Linked DNA regions of Homo sapiens: regions 2 and 3 are each linked to region 1. The links are contacts of gene promoters, found by promoter capture Hi-C in blood cells and fetal thymus (Javierre and others, 2016). All regions are on one chromosome and are shown on one strand. The core of a region is centred on a gene start or on the middle of the fragment in contact, and the rest is flanking DNA. Distances in the headings are between cores, read along the strand shown.

Evidence for each region. The method cuts DNA at HindIII sites, captures the fragments that hold promoters and counts their contacts. A CHiCAGO score of 5 or more calls a contact.
Region 2: a fragment that was not itself captured here is called in contact with the fragment with the promoter of KDM4E in region 1 in 4 of 17 cell types (M2 macrophages, total CD4 T cells, fetal thymus and 1 more); the score reaches 6.6 in M2 macrophages.
Region 3: a contact is called between a fragment that was not itself captured here and the fragment with the promoter of KDM4E in region 1, in 6 of 17 cell types (M2 macrophages, neutrophils, monocytes and 3 more). The highest score is 6.8, in M2 macrophages.

What each region holds. Positions count from the first base shown.
Region 1 is chr11:95,022,928-95,027,410 of GRCh38, forward strand. KDM4E (lysine demethylase 4E) reads left to right here and starts at 2,331. Exons shown (of 1, transcript NM_001161630.1): 1 at 2,331-4,483. The coding sequence starts at 2,631. The coding sequence ends at 4,151. The HindIII fragment of the contact is 8,893 bases long and covers 643-4,483 here.
Region 2 is chr11:95,755,615-95,760,097 of GRCh38, forward strand. It overlaps the pseudogene FGFR3P2. Among named protein-coding and RNA genes, the nearest start is that of FAM76B, 32 kb to the right of the region's middle. The HindIII fragment of the contact is 3,289 bases long and covers 769-4,057 here.
Region 3 is chr11:95,739,404-95,743,886 of GRCh38, forward strand. No RefSeq gene overlaps it. Among named protein-coding and RNA genes, the nearest start is that of FAM76B, 48 kb to the right of the region's middle. The HindIII fragment of the contact is 8,213 bases long and covers 1-4,483 here.

The DNA of each region.
Region 1 (4,483 bases), core at 1,081-3,580:
AGCGAAGAGAGGCTGGGATGAAGGGTGAAAAGGAATAGTAAAGAAAGCATGTTTGAGATCCAGAACAGAATAATGGGTTGTGGAGAGAGTTATTTAGGACAGGAGAGTATATGGGTTTGGCACCACGGGGTAGATAGGCAAAACAATTTGGTTGATAAGGCACAGATCCTGAACTAACCTGTAAGACTTGTCCGGTTTTTGGACAGGTAAAATGGGGGAATTGTAAGGAGAGTTTATAGGCTTTAAAAGGCCATGCTGTAACAGTCGAGTGATAACAGGCTTTAATCCTTTTAAAGCCTGCTGCGGGATGGGATATTGGCATTGAGCGGGGTAAGGGTGATTAGGTTTTAATGAGATGGTAAGGGGTGCATGATCGGTTGACAAGGAGGCAGTAGAGGTATCCCATACTTGTGGGTTAAGGTGGGGAGATACAAGGGGAGGATGCGAAGGAGGCTTTGAACTGAGGGAAAAGGCAGCAATGAGGTGTGGCTGTAGCCCAGGAATAGTGAAGGAAGCAGATAATTTAGTTAAAATGTCTCGACCTAATAAGGGAGCTGGGCAGGTGGGGATAACTAAAAATGAGTGCATTAAAGAATGTTGTCCAAGTTGGCACCAGAGTTGGGGAGTTTTAAGAGGTTTAGAAGCTTGGCTGTCAATACCCACAACAGTTATGGAGGCAAGGGAAACAGGATTGTCAGATGAGTCTGTAGAAAAGAAGGATTCAAAGGACTCAGAGCTTGGGGTGGAGACTGAAGGAACAGACAGGAGAGAAAGAAAAAAGATTTGGGACAAGTCTCTTTGGGAGCAGAGACTAGGGAGGGACCAATGTATAAAAGAATGCCTGGATGTCGGGCACCTCAGACCATTTTTGCCCATTTTTCGACAAAAATTGTCTAGGTCTCGTAGGATGGAGAAATCAAAAGTGCCATTTTCTGGCCATTTAGAACCATTGTCGAGTTTGTACTGGGGCCAGGTGGTGTTGCAGAAGAAAATAAGATGCTTAGATTTTGGGTCAGGTGAGAGTTGAAGAGGTTTTAAGTTCTTGAGAACACAGGCTAAGGGAGAAGAAGGAGGAATGGAGGGTGGAAGGTTGCCCATAGTGAAGGAGGCAAGTTTAAAAAATAAGGGTAGAGACACAGAGAAGGGGGGTGGGGAGCAGCCCTGAGCTGCAACGTAGGGGAGCAGCCAAAGCAGCTGTCCCCACAGTTGATTTGCCCATCAAGGGAATGTGGGTGAATGATAATGTGGGTGAATGCGGAGATCAGACACCAATGGAACATGGGTGAATAATCAGAGACACATCCCCACAATGATTAAACACCAAGGGAAGGCTGCCTTCCCGAGTCCGTGACCAGCGCCGGAGTTTTGGGTCCAGGGATAAAATGTGTCTCCTTTGTCTCTACCAGAAAATAAAAGGAATTGAAATTAAGAGAAGAAAGAGATTGAAGGGTGGCGCCAAGATTGAAAGAAGAAAGAGGTTGAGGGATAGTGAGAGAGGTTGGAGAAGACAGTAAAAAGAGCTGCTTGCCTGATTTAAAATCAGTGAGATGTTCCTTGGGCTGGTTGGTCTGAGGACTGGAGGTCGTATGTGGATCTTTTCACAGAGTGAGGGTGAGGACAGGGGACTGGTCTCCCGAAGGAGTCCCGCTGACCCAGGTCTTCGGCACGAAATGTCTCACGTGTCCGTGTCAAGAGACCCCCAAAGAGGCTTTGTGTGAGCAACAAGGCTGTTTATTTCTCCTGGGTGCAGGCGGGCTAAGTCCAAAAAGAGAGTCAGCAAAGGGTGGTGGGATTATCATTAGTTCTTACAGGTTTTGGGATAGGTGGTGGAGTTAAGAGCAATGTTTTGGGGGCAGGGGGTGGATCTCACAAAGTACATTCTCGAGGGTGGGGGGAATTACAAAGAAACTTCTTAAGGGTGGGGGAGATTATAAAGAAACTTCGTAAGGGTGGGGGAGATTACAAAGTACATTGATCAGTTAGGGTGGGGCAGAAACAAATCACAATGGTGGAATGTCATCAGTTAAGGCTATTTTCACTTCTTTTGTGGATCTTCAGTTGCTTCAGGCCATCTGGATGTGTATGTGCAGGTCACTGGGGATATGATGGCTTAGCTTGGGCTCAGAGGCCTGACAATGTTTACATATCCTGATGTTAGCATATGTTTTAGCTTAGCTTAATGCTAGCTGAATATTTCTTTTGTCTGGTTATATACTTATTTAAAAAATATGAATATTCTGTATCTTTTGTTGTTGTTGTTTAGGTGTATTGTTTCGACTTCCTAGAAGAGACCCCCAGGTACAGTGGGACACTAGCTGCTACTAGTGCACCCAAGCCTGAGAATCAGGAGAAGCCTCACAGTGACACCCCCAACTGAGGAAACTCACAGAGCTGGGACATACTCTACTTCTTCAGAAAAAAGTATACTGACTAGAGTGGAGTCCCCCTGGGGAGTCAGAAAGCCTGTGAAAGATCTCACTTGTTCAAAAGTCCAAGTGTGAATTACTGTCTCACAGATAAACCAAAGTATTTTGAAAAACAAAGGGGAGAAAAGAAATTACTCCCCAGAACTCTCAGGCATCTAGAGGACACCCAAGAACGTGGGAGTCAGCTGCTTCTTGTGTGCAGCCATGAAGTCTGTGCACTCCAGTCCCCAGAACACGAGTCATACCATCATGACGTTTTACCCAACCATGGAAGAATTTGCAGATTTCAACACATATGTTGCTTACATGGAGTCCCAAGGCGCACATCAAGCTGGCCTTGCCAAGGTAATTCCACCCAAGGAATGGAAAGCCAGACAGATGTATGATGATATCGAAGACATCTTAATAGCCACTCCCCTCCAGCAGGTGACCTCTGGGCAGGGAGGTGTGTTTACTCAATACCATAAAAAGAAGAAAGCCATGAGGGTGGGGCAGTATCGCCGCTTGGCAAACAGTAAAAAATATCAGACTCCGCCACACCAGAATTTTGCAGATTTGGAGCAACGATACTGGAAGAGCCACCCCGGTAATCCACCAATTTATGGTGCTGATATCAGCGGCTCCTTATTTGAAGAAAGCACTAAACAATGGAACCTAGGACACCTGGGAACAATTCTGGACCTGTTGGAGCAGGAATGTGGGGTTGTCATCGAGGGTGTCAACACACCCTACCTGTACTTTGGCATGTGGAAGACCACGTTTGCCTGGCACACAGAGGACATGGACCTTTACAGCATCAACTACCTGCACTTTGGGGAGCCCAAAACTTGGTACGTGGTGCCCCCAGAACATGGTCAGCACCTGGAACGCCTGGCCAGGGAGCTCTTCCCAGACATTTCTCGGGGCTGTGAGGCCTTCCTGCGGCACAAAGTGGCCCTCATCTCGCCTACAGTTCTCAAGGAAAATGGGATTCCCTTCAATTGCATGACTCAGGAGGCTGGGGAGTTCATGGTGACCTTTCCCTATGGCTACCATGCTGGCTTCAATCACGGCTTCAACTGCGCAGAAGCCATTAATTTTGCCACTCCACGATGGATTGATTATGGCAAAATGGCCTCTCAGTGTAGCTGTGGGGAGTCGACAGTGACCTTTTCCATGGACCCCTTTGTGCGCATTGTGCAACCCGAGAGTTATGAGCTCTGGAAACACAGGCAAGACTTGGCCATTGTGGAACACACAGAGCCCAGGGTTGCAGAAAGCCAAGAGCTGAGCAACTGGAGAGATGATATAGTACTTAGAAGAGCTGCTCTGGGCCTGAGGCTTCTCCCAAACCTCACAGCCCAGTGTCCCACACAGCCTGTGTCCTCAGGGCACTGTTACAACCCAAAAGGCTGTGGCACTGATGCTGTGCCTGGATCCGCATTCCAAAGCTCTGCATATCATACCCAGACCCAGTCACTTACCCTGGGGATGTCAGCCAGGGTTCTTCTCCCTTCCACTGGAAGCTGGGGTTCTGGTCGTGGTCGTGGTCGTGGTCAAGGTCAAGGTCGAGGTTGCAGTCGTGGTCGTGGTCATGGTTGTTGTACTCGAGAACTGGGGACTGAGGAGCCAACTGTTCAGCCTGCATCCAAGAGGCGCCTTTTAATGGGTACAAGGAGTAGAGCTCAAGGCCACAGGCCTCAGCTCCCGCTTGCCAATGATTTGATGACAAATCTGTCCCTTTGAGTGGTGGCCTTCAGCATCTTGCCAAGGCTTCTGGCTGCTGCTGTGTCCCTGATCTTCAACTCCTGGGGCCCCCACTGGATCGTGATGAAACCATGCACCCTGGCCTGTGCCTGCTATCCCTCAACAGCACTACTAGTAATCTCCCTGATGTTGTCTGCATGACTCCTCCCAATGTCATTGTGCCTTTGATTAAGTTTTCCAGGGACACTGGTGGGGACTGGAACTGATTAAGTTCACCAGGGACACTTGCCTGGTGAACATGGGCAAGGCTGTAGCAATGGACCACTTTTACGGCTCTAGGGTTCTGACTCCAACTAAGTTTTCCAGAATCT
Region 2 (4,483 bases), core at 1,163-3,662, 730 kb after region 1:
GCAACTTGTTAACTTCTGCAGCTCCAACGAGCACACGGCAGAATTCAAACCGGGGCCATGATTAAGGTACCCTAGGGGCTCCGGTCAGTTCAGCTGCCAAGGAAGTATTTGCTGCATGGTCTGTAATAATAACAATATTTGAGGGCAATTTGTCATAATGTTACTGGATCCTCACAGTTCTGAGGGTTGATATTTACAGCAGAGTTAGTATGACCCATTAAAAGAGGAAACAAAATGAAAAGGTATTTTCAAGGTCTTCTGACTCCACATCTCATATTTATTTTTCTCCAACACAACAGACTTTGATTCAGTGATTAATTTAGTGGAAGCTCAGCTCTGAAATCATGCAACTGCATAGGTATCCTTTCTCTTTATTTGAAAGAGGCAAATAATTTAAAAGTAAGTGGATATCAAGGAACTTTTGATATCTGGAGCAAGTTCCAGTGTCCTTTCCTATTTAGTCCTACATTTGTTTGTTTGTTTGTTTTCCCCCAGCATTCAGAGCTGTTTATTTCCATCTTCATACTACACCAAAGAATTTCAAACAGTGTTAGGTAGACTAGCTGGAAGTTGGAGCTTAGAACATCCTACATCCCTGAAAAGTTCAGTGATGCAGTCCCAGGTACACAGCTGCCCATCTGCCACCCAAGAATTGTTGTGAAGAAACCAGAGTCTCTGCAGATGATGGGACAGAAGCCTGTGGTGCAGCAGTGGTCACCTAGCAGGTCCTTGGCTGGGACACCTTCTATTATAAAGTATATCAGTTTAAGCTTGACAGAATGAAACATGATATATTTTACAAGTAATGAATATAGGCCAATAGAAAACTCATAGATACAAATATAACTAATTCTACAACTTCCATAATGGCCCGTCCTAATTCTTTAATTTGTCATCTATTATAATTCATAGACTTTGTCACATAATTTTAGAGTGGGTCTTAAGATAAAATCATGTTTGTTAAATATGTGAGGTTGATGATAAGCTCACCAAGGAGTTCTTTACTCAGTATGGGAATTCAGAGAGCACAAAGTTACAGAGGGAGAAGCAGGATTATGAGGGACAGAAGTCATAGGGGTGATTCCCATTTTTATTGACTGACACACATATTCTTACTTTAGGAAAAACTGCATCTAATTTTAGACTGCAGTTCATGGCAGATGCTGCGAACCAGCAGCAAGTTCATGTCCAGAATTGCTCACTGCAGAGGATTTTGTCTGCTGGCTGGTACCATAGTTTCTCTTTCATAGGCTATTCCAAAACTTCTATAATGCTGGTAGATTTCAGTGAAGTGTCACCCCAGCCCACCCACCCCTTGCACTTAGCCAGCAGTGGCACCCACCTTGAGCATGGTGAGGTATGTTATGCCAGCAGGGTCCACATTGCTGCTGTTCACCTCCAAGTGCTAAGCTGCTGTACACCTTGCAGTGGGACTCCACTTCACTGCCCAGCACCACTGTCTGATTGGGCAGCAGCCATGCATGCGGAATTAGTCAGTGAGGAGAGCACTCTGTGGGGGCAGATGGGGACTGGAAGGCTGCCCGTCTGCCTGCCCCTCTCTGTAGCCCTCATCCAGCATGTCCAGTGTGTATATCTGCAGGATGCTGCCAAACTTATTCTCCACCATACTCTCCATGACCAGGCTCCATTGCTGGTGCTGCAACTGGATACACTGATATGAGGCTCTCCATGGAACTCCTTGTGGGTCCTCAGCCAGGAAATGGAGAGAGTAGAATTGCTGGTGGTGGGACATCAGAAGCAAACAGGTTGGGTGGCCAGCATGGCCAGCAGCTTCTTGTCCATCCACTGAGCCCAAGTCCAATAGAGGGCCTCTGGCACGTGAAGGCCATATAGAGGTGAGGAACAGAAGCCTATCTGATCTGACTCTCCTTCCAAGGCTCCCCCTGTCCACTTCCCACCTCAGTTTATCCTCCTGTGTAGGGAGAGTGTTGCCTTTCAAGTACATCTGCCTGGGGTGGAAAAGGCTCCAAGGAACCTCAACACCATGTTCCCGACACCCTTGGCATTCTCAAACATGGGCCATGTGTTCCCTTCCCTCTGAGCTTCCTCCAAGTGGCTTCTCCTGCTAAGAGGTCCAGGGTGCCCCACTGTGGGGGGCCTTCAGGACATACCAGCATCTCCCAGGGGAGCCCCCATACATTTGCTTTTATAGAAAGTAATAATGGCCCATTTACTGAACACTTGCCATGTGCTAAGCCATGAGATCAGCATTTTGCATGCCTTATTTAAACTTGACATCCGTCATGTGATATACCTCCATTTTAGCAATGAGGAAACTGAAGCTCAGAGGGCTTGAGTAACTTACCCAGTGTTATACAGCCAGACAGTGGCCAAGTCTGAGTTTGAACCAGGATCTAACTTGAAGTATCAGTTCTTAGCTATCACACTTTGTGGCCTCTGTATGCAACACTATCCTAAGTCTCATGTTAGGTATTTGTCCTTGAGTTAAGGAAAAGTTAAATTCTTTTCTGCAACCACCACTTAAAAATGCCAGAAAGTGTTTTCTGAGTTTGGTTTTTTGTTTGTTTGTTTGTTTTGGCGGTTGTGGGGCGAGTTTTTCTTTTTTTCGTCAAAAACTGGTTTAATTTTTTTTTTTGACAGGTCTTGCTCTGCCACCCAGGTTGGAGTGCAATTGTGCCATCTTGGCTCATTGGAGCCTCAACCACTTGGGCTCAAGCAATCCTCCCACCTCACCCTCCCAAGTTGCTGGGACCACAGGCGTGCACCACCACAGCTGGCTAATTTTTTTTTTTTTTTGTATTTTTTGTAGAGACGCAGTTTCACCATATTGCACAGGCTGGTCTCAAACTCCTGGGCTCAAGCGATCCTCTTGCCTCAGCCTCCCAAAGTGCTGGGATTATAGGTGTGAGCCACCACACCCGGCAGGTCTATGTTTTTTTACTTTTAACTAAACTTTAGTGATCAGAAGAAATGATCTTCCTGAAATTACTCTTTTCTCTGCAATTCAGGATGCATCAGTTGTTATTATACTTTTATTTTGTATATCCATGCTAAAGTTTATTATTATTGTATACTTATTTTTATTTACATAAGGTGAAGGTTTTTTTCTAAAACTAAAAAGCTCTTGAGCAGTACTTTTGAAAAATGCACACCCATCTAACTTTTACATGTGTATATGATTATATTCTTGCTAAATTCTTTTTTTTTTTTTTTTTTTTTTTTGAGAGACAGAGTCTTGCTCTGTTGCCCAGGCTGGAGTGCAGTGGCTCCATCTCTGCTCACTGCAACCTCTGCCTCCCGGGTTCAAGCTATTCTCCTGCCTCAGCTTCCCAAGTAGCTGGGGTTACAGGTGCCCGACACCACGCCCAGCTAATTTTTGTATTTTTTTAGTAGAGACAGGGTTTCACTATATTTTAGCCAGGCTGTCTCGAGCCCTTGACCTCAGGTGATCCACCCACCTCGGCCTCCCAAAGTGCTGGGATTACAGACGTGAGCCTCCGCACCCGGCCTCTTGCTAGATTCTTACAGCACCATCTTCAGTCTTTGTTTTTGTCTTCCGTTTCTCTCCAGACACTCTACATTACTTGCCGCTTCTCCCTTCCTGTCGTTATTTTTCAATCATGTTTCCTCTTCCTGATTTTTGCTGGTTTGATCAAACAGTTTCCAGTCTAGTTTTCCACTGATATTTTGAATATTCTAGCCCCTTTTTATTCCATTAATGATTGCCTGTCCTTTCCTGCCCTCATGATCACATTCATGTTTTCTTATTTCGTTTGAAGAAATCATACCATCTATTTCTCCCACCTCAGGGGTTCTAGTCTTCTATTTTCCCCTCATCCCAGTCAGTTTAAACCTTTAAAATATGGTTTTGTGGGGGACTGCTTTCCCCCCACCACAAAACTTCATGGACGGAATAATCTAGTCCACTCTCTTACCTCTAACAGATTTGGCTGAGATCGTTAAAAACTATTGATATGTCCCTCCTTTTTGAAGACTCCATATTTAACACTTCCTGATCTTAAACAATCCTAGGCTGATACTCACTGTTTAGATTTAAAGATAAATATATCTTACAAGCTTTGTTGTTCACCACTTTTCCTGTCCACTACATCTCTACAATGAAGTTTTCTTTTCTAGTTCCCTTGCTTGGTGTCCTTTCTAGATTACTTTCTTCATATAGACAACTTGGGTGATATATTCTCTGATTATACCCATATCAAAAATTCACGTTCTTTTATCTTGTCAGGAGAATGATACTTCGCTGGTATAGAATTCTGAGGTGGCAGGTCTTTTTCTCTAAGTAGTTTGTGGGATGTTAGTTCACTGCCACTTCTGGTGTTACAGATGAGAAGTCTGATTCCTTTTCCTTTACAGGAAACCGATTTTTTCTGCCTGGAAGCTTATCAGATTTTTATCATAAGCTTTAGAGTTAAAAAAAAAATCGATTCTATTAGAAACATTGAGTCCATCTAATATGCAGACAAGCCTTTCATCAGCTTTG
Region 3 (4,483 bases), core at 731-3,230, 720 kb after region 1:
AGTACTAAGCACAGGCCTTAGTTAATTGAACATGCAAAGTGGAACCCACAGGCAATGATCTCAGTATATATTTTGACTCATCATCCAAAGAAATCAGAGATGAAAGCAACATCTAATGGCTGAGAATACATAAATAGCCATTTCCACTCACTTTCAATTACCCTGCAGAGGAATCTGGTCACAGATGAGCTCAGTAAATTCACAATATGTTATCCTCAATAGCTAAGCTGAGCAAAATCACCCAATTTGTTAGAACATTAATCCTCTAAAAGCCTGCCAACCCTAATCATTTTATGGCTTCACATTGCTTAATGGTAAAGATAAGAGGATCCCCAGGGATGCCCAGGTGTGACCTTCAGTGAGTCAAGTGCAGACAGTCTCCTGAGAATGTAGATGGATATTGTATGGCCTAAATATCCAGCCTATAGCTAGTGTGGTCAGTGTTCTAACTCTCCTCTGCACTATGTGCCTTTCACAGTCATCCTGGAGGAATTTCCAGTCCTTTGAAACTGGGGATTACAATGTATTTATTTCTGAATCCCCAATGATTGGCATAATATCAGATACCTGGAAGTCACACATTTAACAAATATTTGTTAAATGAAAAATCAAATAAGTGATAGTAGGCAGTTACCTTCAGCAAATACACTCACCATACATATGTACATACATAAAGGATGGGGTTCTTTTTTATATTTCTCAATCTGAACTGGGAGGTGAAGTCTCTCTTTGCTTGATTCTACCTGTGAGGGGAATCGTTCTGAAGTGCTGATACCTTAAGAGCACAACTGGCAGAATTGTGGAAAGCACCATAATCTACAGGTTTAAATCTTAGGTCTGTCTCTTAGTAGCTGTGTGACTTTGGGCAAGCTAGTTATTCTTTCTGTGTCTCAATGACCAAACTGTCAGATAGGAGTGATAATCAAGGTTGTCATGAGATAGGAATAAATTATATGCAGCTATGCATCACATAACAATGCTTCTGCCAACAACAGACTGCATATGCAATTATGGTCCCACAAGATTATAATGGAGCTGCCCTATACAGATATACCATTATTTTATCTCTTGCGCTGTATTTTTACTGTATTTTTTCTATGTTTAGGTATGTCTAGATACACAAATACTTACCATTATGTTACAATTGCCTACAGCATTCAGTTTAGCAGCATGCTGTACAGGTTTGTAGCCAAGCAGCAACAATAGGCTGGACCACCATATAGCCTAGATGTGCAGTAGGCTATTACTATCTAGGTTTGTGTAAGTACACTCTATGATATTCACATAATGATAAATGTGCCTAATAATCCATTTCTCAAAGGACATTTTCATCATTAAATGATGCATAACTATATATATAAAATATATATGTGTGTGCACACACACAAATATCTGTATGCAGCATGTGTCTTTATATATGACATATACTATATATATATATATATATATATATATATATATATGAAAGAAATGTGTAGTACACAATGAACACAATATAAGCCTGGGCTATTACTGTTGAAAGGTTGGGAGTAGAACACTAAGGAGTTTATGCACCCTTGCTCCCATGAAAATTGTTCTTTCTTTCTTTCTTTCTTTTTTTTTTTTTTTTTTTTTTGAGACAGAGCTTCGCCTTTGTTGCCCACGCTGGAGTGCAATGGCATGATCTCGGCTCACTGCAACCTCTGCCTCCCAGGTTCAAGCGATTCTCCTGCCTCAGCCTCCCAAGTAGCTGGGACTACAGGCATGCACCACCACACCCGGCTAACTTTTGTGTTTTTAGTAGAGATGGGGTTTCACCATGTTGCTCAGGCTGGTCTCGAACTCGCGACCTCAGGTGACCTGCCTGCCTCGGCCTCCCAAAGTACTGGGATTACAGGCATGAGCCACTGCACCCAGCCTAAATTGTTCTTTCTTAATGCTTTGTTCCCTTTTGGTATCTCTTAAAACTCACTTCTCACAATGTAAATGCAGCATGAGGAGCTAAAATCCTGACAAGGGATAGCATATATTTGTCTGGCCTTTCCCTCTACTCAGATTTCTCTGGGACCTATAGAAGTGTTGTCTGGTCAAGAATATTAGTTACCATATGACAGACTTTTGCACTTTTGCCTTCCCTTTTCTTCATCCTGGGGATATCTCATCACATCACCCACTGCTCAAAGGGCATGATAAATTCTAGCCAGGCAAAGCCCCCATCGCTGTACCAAAGGAGCTATATTCTCCTCCTAACCTAAATAGTGAATCAGTGTAACATAAACTTATATGACTAGTAAAATGGTTGCTGCTAGCTGACCAGCGGTCCTGTCAGGGAGTCATGCATTGTCGTGGTCTTTCAAATCAACTTAAGGTATGAATTATACACAATAAAGTGCACCTATTTCTTATATTTATATGTGAATGAGATTTGACAAATGTATAACCTCTATAACTACCACAGTCATCAATACATTTCCATCATCCCAAAAAGTTCCCTTGTCCCCTTGGTAGCAAATTATCGCCACCCTAGTCCCCAAGCAACCACTTATCTGTCACTTTAGTTGAGTTTTTGTCTTTGCTAAAATTTCGTACGTTTGCTTTTGTGTATTTTCTTTCATTCAGTTTATTTTTGAGTCATTTATGTGTTACATGTTTAAGTACTTTGCTCTTTTTTATTGCTAAGTAGTAATCCAGTGTGTGAATATACTATAATTTGTTTATTTATCAACCTAGTCATAGACATTTGAGTTGTTTGCTTTTTTTTTTTTTTTTTTGGCTGTTATGAATAAAGCTGCTATGAACATTCATGTAAAATTTTTTATGTGGACATATGCTCTCTTTCTCCTGTGTAGATTCCTAAACAGCATTGCTGGTCCTATGATAATTGTATTTTAACTTTATAAGAATATGCCAGACTGTTTTCCAAAGTGTTCTATCATTTTATATTCTCATAACTAATTTATGAGTTACAGTAGCTCCACATTTTGTAAATACTTCGTATTGTCAATCTCTTTAATTTTAGTAATTCTAGTGAATCCGTGATTGTATCTCATTGTGGTTTTTTTTTTTTTTTTTTTTTTGAGACGGAGTCTTGCTCTGTCGCCCAGGCTGGAGTGCAGTGGCGCGATCTTGGCTCACTGCAAGCTCCGCCTCCTGAATTCACGCCGTTCTCCCACCTCAGCCTCCCGAGTAGCTGGGACTACAGGCGCCCGCTACCATGCCCAGCTAATTTTTTTGTATTTTTAGTAGAGACGGGGTTTCACCGTGTTAGCCAGTATGTTCTCGATCTCCTGACCTCGTGATCCGCCCGCCTCGGCCTCCCAAAGTGCTGGGATTACAGGCGTGAGCCACCGCGCCAGGCCCTCATTGTGTTTTAATTTGCACTCCCTGATGATTAGTGATGTTCAGCATCTTTTCATGTGCTTATTGGCCATTTGCATATCTTCTTTCATGGTGAATCTGTTGAAATCTTTTGCCCATTTTCTACTTGGGATTTTTTTATCTTCTCATTGAATCCTAAGGTTCTTTTATGTTTATATACAAATCCTTTGTCAGATATACTTTGAAAATATTTTCTCCCAGTTTGTATTTGCCTTTCCATTCTCTTAATGGTCTTATGAGCAGAATATTTTAATTATGATAACGTTCTATTTTTCCATTTTTTCTTCATATTCCATGCTTTCTCTGTGCCTAAAACATCCATGCCAACGCAAAGTCACAAATATTTTCTGATATTTTTCTTCAAAAAATGTCATAAGTTTAGCATTATGTTTAGGCCTATAAGCCATGTCAAATTACTATGTAAAAAGAGTATGAAGTAAGGTGTGTGTGGTGTTCATTTTTTTTAATGGATAACCCAGTTGTTCTAGCATCATTTGTGGAAAATACTGCGTGAAAGGCAATTCTACACAAAAGCACACACACACCATCTTCTGTTCATTGATTTATTTGTCTATCCTTACATGAATATTACATTGTGTTTATTATTTTAGCTTTTATAAATTTTAAAAGAAGGTAGTATAAATCCTCCAATATTGTTCTTGTTTTTCAAAATTGTTTTCGTCATTCTACGTTCTTTGCATTTCCATATAAATTTTTGAATCAATTGACAATTCTAAAAAAAAAAAATCATGCTGCAACTGAGGTAAAACTCTACATCAAGTTAGCGGGAATTGACATCTTAGCAATATGGAGTGATCCAATCAGTGAACATGGTATATCTTACCATTTATTTGGCATTCTTTCATTTCTCTAAGCAAGGTTTTGTAGTTTTAAGGTTTTACAGTGTACATTCTTAATACCTTTTGTTAAATTTATCTCTAATTATTTTATCTTTTATGCTAGGCTAAATGCAATCACTTTTATTGCATTTTCAGTGATTCATTGCTAGTACATACAAATACATTTTTTTTGTCTATTGCTTTGTATCCTGTGACCTTGATAAATCCCTTTGTTAATTCTAGTAGCTGTCTTTTAAATTCCTTAGTTTTGTGGATACATGATCATG